Regions from separate parts of the Homo sapiens genome. Here regions 1 and 2 are each linked to region 3. The links are contacts of gene promoters, found by promoter capture Hi-C in blood cells and fetal thymus (Javierre and others, 2016). All regions are on one chromosome and are shown on one strand. The core of a region is centred on a gene start or on the middle of the fragment in contact, and the rest is flanking DNA. Distances in the headings are between cores, read along the strand shown. Region 1 has its middle 14 kb from the start of LINC03004. Region 2 has its middle 37 kb from the start of LINC03004. Region 3 holds the start of IL22RA2 (interleukin 22 receptor subunit alpha 2).

Evidence for each region. The method cuts DNA at HindIII sites, captures the fragments that hold promoters and counts their contacts. A CHiCAGO score of 5 or more calls a contact.
Region 1: a fragment that was not itself captured here is called in contact with the fragment with the promoter of IL22RA2 in region 3 in 1 of 17 cell types (monocytes); the score reaches 5.4 in monocytes.
Region 2: a contact is called between a fragment that was not itself captured here and the fragment with the promoter of IL22RA2 in region 3, in 1 of 17 cell types (total CD4 T cells). The highest score is 5.9, in total CD4 T cells.

Annotation. Positions count from the first base shown.
Region 1 is chr6:137,678,029-137,682,164 of GRCh38, forward strand. No RefSeq gene overlaps it. Among named protein-coding and RNA genes, the nearest start is that of LINC03004, 14 kb to the left of the region's middle. RefSeq lists an enhancer at 2,965-4,136. The HindIII fragment of the contact is 4,653 bases long and covers 1-4,087 here.
Region 2 is chr6:137,626,056-137,630,416 of GRCh38, forward strand. No RefSeq gene overlaps it. Among named protein-coding and RNA genes, the nearest start is that of LINC03004, 37 kb to the right of the region's middle. RefSeq lists an enhancer at 1-129. The HindIII fragment of the contact is 868 bases long and covers 2,340-3,207 here.
Region 3 is chr6:137,171,484-137,175,758 of GRCh38, forward strand. IL22RA2 (interleukin 22 receptor subunit alpha 2) reads right to left here and starts at 2,161. Exons shown (of 7, transcript NM_052962.3): 1 at 1,930-2,161. RefSeq lists enhancers at 261-1,019, 916-1,135. The HindIII fragment of the contact is 14,362 bases long and covers 1-4,275 here.

The sequences.
Region 1 (4,136 bases), core at 511-3,010, 510 kb after region 3:
TACCTTGGAGTACTTCACACAACAGAGTACTACACAATTTCACTAAAAAGTATTTCTATGAACTTCAGGAGATAAGTTTTTTTTTAAAGCCAATTGTAGAAGAGCATCTACAATATGCTACCTTTTGTGTAAGCAAGGAGAAATAAGAAAATACACAAGTCTGCTCTTTTTTGGAAAAAGAAACACAGGAAAAATAAACCAGAAGACAATGAAATCACTTACCTACAAAAGGTGAGGGAAAATCAGACAGAAGTGATAGAGAAGGCAGTGATACTTCTCTGCATAAACCTCTACGAAATGGATAACATTACTACATTGAAGTGGGGGTTGCAGGGGCAAAGAACTAATTCAGGTAACTTTAAAGACAACACTTTGATAATATACTTTTACTCTAGGGAAAAAAATAAAGAACTTCAAATGCATCTTAATTTCTTTTTACTTGATTTGATTTGATATGCATGGTGATTTGGGTATAGCAATTCTGAAACGATTTTATGTGTGTTTTAGAACTGGGAAAATGAGTCAGTGTTCTGATGCTGTTGAAAGGCAGAATTCTCATTGTGGAAGAAGGGAGATTCAAAGATGGAGTGGGTGGGGGGAAGGCAAAAAAGAAACTCGTGGAGTGGGATTGATATTGAAAGTATCAGTATAACTGCAGAATTTCTATGACATGTATAGACAAGCCTTTGTGTGTGTGTATGTGTGTATGCATCTCTGTGTGTGTAGCTTTCTTAGCTCTATCCTCAAAAAGGGCCTGGAGGCAGACCCCCTCAGTAACAATGAAAACATCTAGTGCTAAGATTTTGGTTTCTAAATACCATTCCCCATGATAAGTAAAGAGAGGTCCTTTGAGAAATGGCTGATTCCTGCGCTGGAACAGGGATGCTACTTGATGGGTCTGAAATATCTTGTTGAACCAGAAAGCAAGAAAGTGTTGTTTTAAACAAAAATTATGGGAGCATATCAAAAGGGAGCCAGCTTAAAGGGGATCCAACTTTCCAAGTCTGTGACAATCTGAGCATTAAAAGTATTAATAACAAAGGCCGAGTATGGTGGCTCATGCCTGTAATCCCAGCACTTTGGGAGGCTGAGGTGGGCAGATCACAAGGTCAGGAGTTCGAGACCAGCCTGGCCAAAGTGGTGAAACCCCGTCTCTACTAAAAAATACAAAAATTAGCTGGGTATGGTGGTAAGCGCCTGTAATCCCAGCTATTCAGGAGGCTGAGGCAGGAAAATCACTTGAAACCAGAAGGTGGAGGTTGAAGTGAGCCAAGATTGTGCCAGTGCACTGTAGCCTGGGGGAAAAAATGAAACTCCTTCTCAAAAAAAAAAAGCATTAATAAGAAAAATGAAGTATAACCCATGGATAAAATTGGAATCTATATATTCATACTAATAATAGGGAAGAAGGGAGAGAGGAAGAGAGGCAAAGAGGAGAGAAGTGAGAGAGGGGAGAGAAGAAAGAGGAAAGGGAGAGAGAGAGAGAGGAAAGGGGAGGGAGAGAGACATTTCTTATAGAACAAAAGAACACCTACCAATAAATGTGGAGAGAGTGGGTAAACATGTAATATCAACAGTTTACAGCCATTATAGCAAACTTGAATTAGAGCAAGAATCAAGTTTAGGAAGAAAAGTGTGATGAGGAGTAGAATATTTGCATGGGCTTAAAGTGTCTTTCAACATATTGCTTACTAGTTGCAAGGGAGAAAATAGAAATTCTATAGTGAAGAAAATGAACAAGAGTTTGATCAGGTGATCAAAATTAATATAATGAATGAATGAGGAGCAGATGGATATTTTATGCCTGGGATACCTGAGGAGGACACAGAATTGTTTATGTAGTTTTGTGGCCAGGGAGGAAACATCAGCAAACCCAAATGGAGAAACATTCCATAAAACTACTGGCTTTTGCCATGAAAGGCAAAGGAAAGACTAAGGAACTGATCTAGGTTAAAAGAGACTAAAGAAACAGACAACTAAATGTAATCCATGGTCCTGTACTGGCTTCTGGACTGGAAAGGGTAAAAAAGTTATAGAGGACATTACTGAGATAATTGGAAAAAATATACATAAAACTATTGCATCAAAGTGTCCTGAATTTGATAACTGTACTATGGTTATGTAAGAGAATGCCAGGCTGGGCACAGTGGCTCACGCCTGTAATCCCAGCACTTTGTGAGGCCGAGGTGGGTGGATCATGAGGTCAAGAGTTCAAGACCAGCCTGACCAACATGGTGAAACCCCATCTCTACTAAAAATACAAAAATTATCTGGGCGTGGTGGCACACACCTGTAATCCCAGCTACTCAGGAGGCTGAGGCAGGAGAATTGCTTGAACCTGGGAGACTGAGGTTGCAATGAGCCAAGATCACAGCACTGTACTCCAGCCTAGGTGACAGAGTGAAATTCTGTCTCAAAAATAAATAAATAAATAAAGAATAAAGAATGTCCTTAGTCTTAGGCAATAATTAGAAAATATTAAGAGGTAAAAGAAAGTGTAAAAGGCTTACCCCTCAAATGATTCAAAAAATATAAAAGAGTACAGACATGGGCAAACAGAAAAACAATGATTTTTAAATTGTGGTTAAAATGTTAAAAATTTTAGAAATCTGGGTAAAGGATATATGAATATTTTATGTATTGTATAAAAAATTTTGTAAGTTTGAAATTATTGCAAGAAGTTTTTCTAAACATATGATTAAAAGATTTAAAAAATTCTGACTGCTCTTCACCCAAATAGATTGAAATTAGTAAGAAATGGCTCTAATTTGTAGTACCCTGGGAGCCTGTGAAAATTTCTATAATGATACCCACCTAGTCTCTATGAGTGAATCACACGCCAGAAACATCTGCCCTGTGATTCTATGGAGATTTCTGACATCTATAAATTTGAAGGAGTATGTTTGAGAAGAAAAGCAGAAGTTTCCTGCTACTTAAGTCTAGAATGAAACAGGATTCATAATCTCTATATTTCGGAGCTAATCAAGTGGCAATGTCAATGGGGGAAATCCAGGTCAACTTTAATTCCCATCATGACTAAGTGGCAGAAAGACTCAGAATACAATGACCTAGAACTGACCTCAGGGAGAAATCACAGTCAAATCAAGATCGCTAATTTCCAGGATTCTTGGTAAGGATGACTCAGCAATTCATAAATCTCAACATTTACAATAAACACAAACCTACGTCACATGTCTTTTACTCTCAAATAGGTAGTACAGTACCAAGCTGCTTCTCAGGACTACATATAGTGTTTATATATTCTTTAAAAAGATAAGTTCAGATAGAGACATAGTTTACCAAGTATAAAGGAAATGTATATAACCGTCTTAAATGTATTAGACATTAAAAATCTAGTATGCTCATTACCCACCTTGAATTTCTTAGCTCTGGAAGATAGCATATTCTTCAAAAGCTATCAGTTTCATTACCTAAGAAATAGAGACAATATTGATTTTCTTCAAATGTGTTCAACCCTTTTGTTCAAAAAGTAGTCATGTTTTCATTTGAAAGAGAAATCCTAGAAACTGTGTGGTCTGATTGCTTATCCGTTGGTGTATTCTCATAGCATCTCTGGCTTCCCTGTTGATTTATAATACAGCATCATTCAAGGTAAAAAAGAAATTGCTACACTGTGAGTCAATTCATTGCAAATAAGGAATACAAGTTTCAGCTCTGATGTTGATTGTATGATTTAGAGCAAATAATTTATCTCTTTTGGCCTTAGGTTTGTTTGGTTGGTTGGTTGTTTTTGTTTGTTAGTTCTTTGAGACAGGGTCTCACCCAGTCACCCAATTTGGAGTGCAGTGGCGCAATCACGGCTCACTGCAGCCTTGACCTCCTGGCCCAAGTGATCTGCCACCTCAGCCTCCCAAGTAGCTGGGAGTACAGATGCATGCCAACGTGCCTGGCTATTTTTTTTTTATAGAGACAGTGTTTTGCCATCTTGCCCATGCTGGTCTCAAACTGCTGGGGTCAAGTGATCCACCCACCTTGGACTCTCAAAGTCCTAGGATTACAGGTGTGAGCCATAATGCCCAGCCCAGGCCTTAGTGTTTTGTTTTTGTTTTTGTTTTTTATAAAGTAAAGCTTCACAAGAAGGGCAAGCAAAACAGTGAGGGTTCTAGAAACCATAT
Region 2 (4,361 bases), core at 1,524-4,023, 460 kb after region 3:
CTTTACTGGCTGAAGGTTATAAATGTTTTATGAGCCGCTGAGCTTGCAGCATTACTATTTTATTAGAAGGTGGAATATCTTTTCCTCACAGCTGTATTCCTAGCGAAATTATTCTTTCTCTTAAAAATGTTAACCTGATGCTCGTTAGGAAGTGGCAACTGGCAGGATGGAAGGAACTGTTCAGAAATGGTCTGGCCCATTGGAAAGCGAGTCTGGATGGCACTTGGATGTCTTTCTTTTGGTTTCTTTTGGATTGAGCTACAAATAATTTAGGGAAGAACAGGAATTTTTTGATAGTCTAGCAACTTGATTTGATACAGTCCTTTTGGAGTCCATCTGGGATTGCTGAGTTGTATATGTTGGTGAAAAGTAAAAACCGCAATTACTTTTGCACCAACCTAATATTATTTTCAAACTCTGGCAACAATCCAAAGAATCAGTTACAAATTTCCAGGGACACACATCAGGCTGAAGCAGGCAAGGCAGGGAATGAAGTTACTAAGGTGATCCTGGATGAGCCACTTAACATCAGTTTCCTCATCTGTCCTGTTTCCCACATTTCTTACTTCACTTTTCTCCAAAACTGAGAACCAAGTAAGCTAAGGAAATTTTAAAAAGCAGGGGAGCGGGGAGAAATTACCCTATCTTGAGAGCTGAAACAAGACTAGCCTTCTGGTCCTCCATGGTGAAAGAATACTGTAACAATGAGAAATCATTTCTTCTCCACTAGCACAGCCAGTTTGTCCCCAGCTTCCCCAAGGGAGCCACGGGGAGCTGTGTTCTTTCACTCTCCCATGTCTATTCGCTCTGCCTCCTCTTGACTATGCTATTCATCTCCCCTTCTCTACCTTAAGAGCTTCTTCTCATCTTCAAACCCAAGTTCAACTGTCATCTCCAATTTGCAGTCTTTCAAGACTAAGCCCTTTCTCCCTCACACATAAATCAAATGAGAATTATTCCCTTATTACTGCTGTCTTTTAAGTCTTAATTCCTCTATCCATGTATCCATTCATCTGACAACCTTCAACCAGCTATCTGCCATGGCATTGGAGATAAAAAGATGAACAAAATACAATCTGCATCCTTAGGGTCACATACTTTTATTTCCACATTATATTTGAGTTTCCTCCTTACTGAAACCATTTTTATATCTCAGTACTTATCATTGTCTAGCACACAGTAGTTATTCAAAAGATATTTCCTAAACTGAATTGAAAGGAAGAAGCTAAGGAGTAAGATCCGCATCATAAAGATGATACCCCATGGGCAATATATTAGAAGGCATCCAAAGATTTGAGTCCTAAACGACAAATAGAGTGAGACCCAGACTCTCCCTCTCTTTTATTTTAAAGCCCTTCATGTGCTAGGGATTCTTTTAGTCTTCAAATCAAATAACATTTCTTTAGCTTATTAACTCAGGAAATATTTATTGAGATTTTGCCCTATGCCAAGTTATGTATTAGAAATCGAGGAAAAGATAACTATATATATATATTTTTTATATATACACATACACAAACACACACACACACATACACATACACACACACATATACACACAGATATGTGTCTATACAGACACATAGAAATATATCTGCATACAAGTTATAGATTTTTCATGCAATAATAATAATACTTGATATTACTATGTAAATACATATACATATGTGCACACATTAGTATACTATACTTGTCATTACTACATATACATATATATTCTTATACATGTATGTAGACATGTATATCCTTATATATGTATACATAGTAATGTTACAGTATATGTAAGAAAATATGTGACTATGTAGTAATGTCAAATATGGTATACTAATGTGTGTATATATGTATCTTTATATATGTATATATAGTTTTATTTGTGTATGTATATATAGTAATGTTAGAGTATATACAAGGATATATATGCATATGTAGTAATGTCAAGTATAGTATACTAATGTATGTATGGATATATATGTATTTATATAGTAATATAGAGTATTATTATTATTATTGCATGAAAAATCCATAGTTTGTCCTGCCCCTAGGCTCTAGAGTTTTGGCAGGAGTCTATTCTGTTACAAGTGAAGAGCTCAATCATCTTCCTCTTCCACTAGACCAAACACTACGAGGGACTGTGCCTTCTTTCATATTGTCACCCCAGCATAATGTTGGGAATAGTAGCTATTCAGTAAGAATCTGAATAAATGCGTTTTACTGCCATTATTTTGAGTTCCTAACTCTAGAAAGATACTTGCTTATGTCTAAAATAAAAAGGACCCAGTTATTTTTCCATGAAATGGCACATGTTAAAGTGGAATTCATTTTGGATTAGGCAGACCTAAAGCTTTAGATTTGTTTTTACATTTTTGAAAATTTCAGGATTTTCTCTAATTAAAAAAATTTTACACTAGGTATGGTCCTAGGATTAAGAGTAAAGAAGGTCAGCCAGGCGCGGTGGCTCATGCCTGTAATCCCAGCACTTTGGGAGGCCGAGGCGCGCGGATCATGAGGTCAGGAGATCGAGACCATCCTGGCTAATACGGTGAAACCCCGTCTCTACTAAAAATACAAAAAAAATTAACCGGGCGTGGTGGCGGGCACCTGTAGTCCCAGCTACTTGGGAGGCTGAGGCAGGAGAATGGTGTGAACCCGGGAGGCGGAGCTTGCAGTGAGCCAAGACTGCGCCACTGTACTCCAGCCTGGGCAATAGAGTGAGACTCCGCCTCAAAAAAAAAAAAAAGTAAAGAAGATCTTTAGAAAGTTTCTCTTGTATAAGGAAAATGTAAATAGGCTCATTGTAGAGAGAACCATAGCTTTGGGCTTGTCCATGTCATGGAGTTTAAATGTCTCTATAAATAAATTACACTGTCACTATATATATATAGTAATGTGTACGTGTGTGTGTACACATTATATACACACACATATACATATATGGTCTGTGGCCTGTCAGTATGTGTGTGTATATATATGTATGTGTATGTGTATATATATATGTATGTGTATGTGTATATATATATATATACACACACACATATATACACACACACACACATATATATATATGGTCTGTGGCCTGTCAGTATGTGTGTATATATATATGTATGTGTATGTGTATATATATATATGTATGTGTATGTGTGTATATATATATATACACACACATATATACACACACACAGGCTTTATATGATAAGGCTTTATATACAAAGCTTCATTATTATTATACATATATACAGGTATCATTATACACGTATGTATGATTGTGTGTGTGTGTGTATATATATATATGTATAAAGCCTCATTATCAAGAGATATAGCAAGAACACTGGATATAATAAGACTGAGCTCACTAAAGCAAAAGGAGTCAACTGCTTAACTAGGCAAATTTTGAAAATTTCCTTCCAAATCAGTAAAAAGAGGCCCAAGACTCCATAACCAGAAATTCTGATGTTGTATTGCTTGCAACAATTAGAATAAGACGAGATCTCAAATGTATGCTACAGAGCAAGGGTCCTCAACCCCCGGGACCATGGATCCATACTGGTCTGTGGCCTGTCAGGAACAGGCCTCACAGCAAGAGGTGAGCCGTGGGTGGGTGAGCATTACCGCCTGTGCTCCACGCCTCCAGTCAGATCAGTGGGGCCATTGGATTCTCATAGGAGCATGAACCCTATTGTGAACGGCGGATCTAGGTTGCCGGCTACTTATAAGAATCTAGTGCCTGGCGATCTGAGGTGGGAACAGTTTCACCCCAAAACCATCCCCTCCCCAAACCCACTTCCACGGAAAAATTGTCTTCCACGATACTACTCCCTGGTGCCAAAAAGGTTGGGAGCCACTGCTATAGAGGGTTCTCCAAAAGACAGAAAATATTTGTATCAAAAAAAATGACTTTGCCCATGCAGGAGTAGAAAGTACTTAAAATATTGCCTCATTTTAATTCTGAAATCATTTGTTTGAGGTAGCACTTCTAGGCCTCATCTTTTTTTGCCAGAACAATGTCCAAAACCATCAGCGAGATTGAGCTAATGGGCCAGGTGCGGTACCTTATGCCTAGCACTTTGGGAGGCTGAGGCGGGCAGATCACTTGGGGTCAGGAGTTTGAGACCAGCCTGGCCAACATGGTGAAACCCTGTCTCTACCAAAATTACAAAAGCAAATGTATCCAGGCACGGCAGTGCACACCTGTAGTCCCAGCTACTCGGGAGGCTAGGCAGGAGAATCACTTGAACCCGGGAGGCAGAGGCTGCAGTGAGCTGAGACCGCACCACTGCACACCAGCCTGGGCAACAGAGCAAGGCTACATCTCAAAAAAAAAAATTGAGCTAATGAGTGTGAAAGTACTTTGCAAATTCCAAATT
Region 3 (4,275 bases), core at 911-3,410:
TGATGTGGAGGAGGCAGAGTCTTCAAAGAGAAAGGGAAGAATGGCCTTCTGCATACAGACAGGAGCAGAGGAGTTGTTCTCAAGTGTAGACCCTCCATCCCAACCCCATGACCCAGCACCTGTGAACATTTCTAGACACTCGGGTGCCTGAGACTGTGAGGCCTTGGGTGGAGCTGGGGCCACGCAGGGAAAACCTTATTCCTGAGCAAAGGGTCTTAGAAGAGAGCTTATCAGAAATTTCCTCAGAAACCAGATCCCAGTGGACCAGGCCACTATCAATTTTCATTTAACAAATTTCAGTTATTGGAGGGCAGTTGCGCTGCATGCTTTCTGAGGCCAGCCCTATGTGGAAAGGTTTGTGTGGATAACATCAGGTTTCCCAGTGCCTCTGTTCTACGGCAGTCTTCTGAATCCAGGCTTGTATCTCCTCCAGCTGAAGTTTTTGGTGCTTATAAGGTAGCTTCTGCTTTGAAAGAAGAAACATGCAGCACGTTTTATGTTCCCTTTTCACCTCTTCATGCTCCTTAGCTTGCAACCTTCTCAGCATTGTTATTCACTTCCCTGCTAATGTTTACCACTTCACATTTACTTTGGTATTTAAATGGGGGATGATAATGTGGGTTTGCACTATTGATGTTCAATGGCTTCAATACCAATAGATCTCATTTTGAAGCCACCAAATTGCTCCAAGTTCCAGCTAAGAATAAAAGGAAAATATTTAAATTCGAGGTTTTATGATGAGAGCAGCAGAGAACGAAATTGAGGTTTCCACTGGGTTGCTGACTTTGTCAAACAAATGAGGGGAAATTAGGCGGAGTGGGATAAGCAAAACATATTTAAGAACTGAATTCTCCCCAAAACGTGAGCTTTGGTGCTCTATTAAATTTCACAAACCAGACCAGTTCTGTCACTGTTCAATTAGCTCTAGTTGTGTAATAGAACCTGCATAAAAGCCAACACTGTCAACAAGGCCTCAAGGTAGATGAAAAGATAAAATTAAATTCTAATTTCCCATCAATCTGGAAGCAGAAGAATTTGTACAGAATTGTTTCAAATGAAATGCTGTTTTGTTTGGGAAGTAAGAAAGTTTTAGTCACTAGGGGATCTCCGCTCTGCCTCCTTTCAGGCATGAAATGCTGGCTTCATTCCCTGCCCTCCCCCGACCTCGGCCCCACTCCGCAGCAGGGAGAGTCCACCTTGACGGTGACAACGGGTATTTCCATCATCGTGTTGACTCTGGAGAGAACTTGCTTAAGCCCCTGTCTTGAACAGATTTGATTCTCTTCTTCCTTTCTTCTTGTGGCTTCCAGCAGACCAACCATTTATCTAATTAAGGAATCATTTTTCATTGTTTTTAGGTGTGATGTGGAATTTTGGTTATTATTTTTATTTTTTTTTAGAGCTACCTATTATAGTACTACAGATGAAATGGTGTCATGTCTGGGATTTGCTTCAAAATAATACAAAGGCCTGGGAAAGGGGGTTACCATCCATGAGCTGATAACTGTTGAAATTGGGTGTCAGGTTTATTATACTCTACTTTTGTATGTACTTAAAATTGTTCATAACAAAGAAAAAAGATTTTTAAAGTTTATCTACAAGATGTGGCCAGACACGGTGGCTCACACCTGTAATCTCAGCACTTTGGAAGGCGGAGGTGGGTGGATCATTTGAGGTGTGGAGTTCCAGACCAGCCTGGCCAACATGGTGCAACCCCGTCTGTACTAAAAATACAAAAATTAGCCAGGCGTGACGGTGTGTGCCTGTAATCCCAGCTACTCAGTGGGGCTGAGGCAGGAGAATTGCTTGAGTCAAGGAGGTGAGGTTTGCAGTGAGCCGAGATCGCGCCACTGCGCTCCAGTCTGGGCAGCGATAAAGCGAGAGTCCATCTCAAAAAAATAAATAAATAAATAAATAAAGTTTACTTACCAGATGCTGTCTTCCTTTTGGTAATTTTAATGCCATTTTAGTGTCAATAATAAGATCTAATAATTATGGGACGCCATGTTATGTTTTTCCCATATTTTGTCTTTGTTAATCCTCTTATGAAGTCTAGGAGATTGGTATTATTATTCATTTGATGTTACAGATGAAGAAACTGAGACATAGATAGAGAGGTGGAGAGAACTTGACCAGGGCTCTATAGCGAGTAGTGGTAAAGTGAGGGCTGAAATCAGATCTGGTTAGCCTCAGGGCCTGAGGAGTATTATGAAACTCCTCTTGTGTTATTCTTTGCTTGTAATAGACATTCCATAAAGGGATAGAATGATGTCAAAGAACATTTGTCCATTGGCTTCTCGAATCGTTTATTCAGTCAAACAAATGTTTATTGAGCAACTGTTATATGCCAGGCACTGTGTTAGACATCGGGGATGCAGAAATGAACAAGACTACAGAGCCAGCCCTCAGGGAACCAACAGCATTTTCTTCAACCAGGTCTTGGTAGCAAAGGGCTAAGTGTTTCTTATTGTTTTTCAGAGAAGTGTTTAAAAACTGGTGTTCAGTATGACTTTGGTGCTGTCCATTGAAGGGAAGTCAGAGCAACTGTGTTTCTGCTAGGCCCTTTCCTTCATCCTATGATTTGGTGGGCAGCTGAGCATCTTTTAAAAGTTTCATCATGAATGATAATCTGAACACCACCCTTCTCCCTCTCTGGAAAACTATAGAGCTGTAGAGCCAACAACAGGGAAACAACTTGTTCTTTCTTATTTGCTGGGACATTAATAGCTCCACCGAGTAATATTCATGTCCTTTAAGCAGTTCGGCATTCTGGAAATAATTGGCATGCAAAAATTCAAAATGGTTTGTGAACTTGAATTCAGAAAAGAAAAAGAAACATTGTTATTCAAACACAGGTGATAAGCACAATGACTAATCTGAGTTTTTGGACTGTGATCACTAATATATTATTTAAAATCTCCACTCATAGGACATAGGGCTTAATGAGGTTAACCTTTCCTGCTCTTCACTCTTATTTTTCTGGATAAAAGATGCTATTGATTTTGCTTTGATTATTCTTTAAAAAATTTTTTAAAATTTATTTCTGAAAACCAAAACATAAAGGAGTGGTAACATTTAAAAAATATGTATTTTTTTTATTTCAGTAGCTGTGCAATAGTGCAAGTGGTTTTTGGTTACCTGGATGGATTGCACAGTGGTGAAGTCTGAGATATTATTGCATCTCTTACCCGAGTAATGTACATTGTACCCAATATGTAGCTTTGATTATTCTTCACCCAAGGTCACCTTGAAACCCCTACCAGATATCATCAATCATTATGCCCATGCACCAGTATGTTTGTATGTATTGTTTGATCCTGAAAATATCTTCATGGCATAACCAGAATCCAACTGGTTTTCACCTCCTCCACTGTACCCATTTGGTAACCTGCTATCATCATCTCTTGTGTGGACTGTGGCCACAGCCTCCTTACTGGTCTGCCTGCCTCTGTCACTGTTCTCTGCATCAGGTGGAGTGTTCCTATTAAATGTCAGAATAGAACATTTTATTCAGAACCCTGTGATGCCTTCCCATCTCACTCAGATTGAAAGTCAACATTTTTCCAGTCCCTTACTAAGCCCTATATAACCAGGTCCTGTTACCTCTAAATTTATTTCCTACTGCTCTCCTCCCAACCCATGGTGCTCCCTCCTGGGTGGTCTTTTTGCTGTTTCTCAAACATATCAGGCACATCCCTACATTAGCAAGGTTCCCTCTGCTCCAATGCTCTTCCTGAGATGTCCAGGCTCACTCCCTCACCTCCTTCATGTCTCTGCTCAAATATTATCTTATCAGTGAATTCTATGACACCCAAAATAGCAGTCCCCAACAGCTGTCCCTGGCACCTTTATCTGTTTGTTTTCCAAAACATTTATCATCATTTGGCAGGCTATGTTTCATTTTATTCTTGTTGTCTATCTCCCCAACTAGGATATAAGCTCCACGAGGTCAGGGATGTTATGTGTTTTGTTCACTGCTTTAACTCTAGCACTTAGGACAAGGCTGGGGACACAGTAAGCCCTTATCACATGTCTAGTGAATCAAAAAAAAGGAATGTGATTTTAGCAACTGCCATGAATTTACAAGAATTAAGCTAAAGGAACGGGAAGGTGCTTTTCTGCTTTTTATGGTCTGAAGTAGGAGTCCTGAGGGGAAGGGGCTGAGATTCTGTGGACTGTGAGGTTACTATGGTCAGATACTCACGAGCTCAGACACTCATGGGCAACAATGACCTTTGCAAAATCATGCAATGTTGCAGTCAGCTCGTCAGTTGG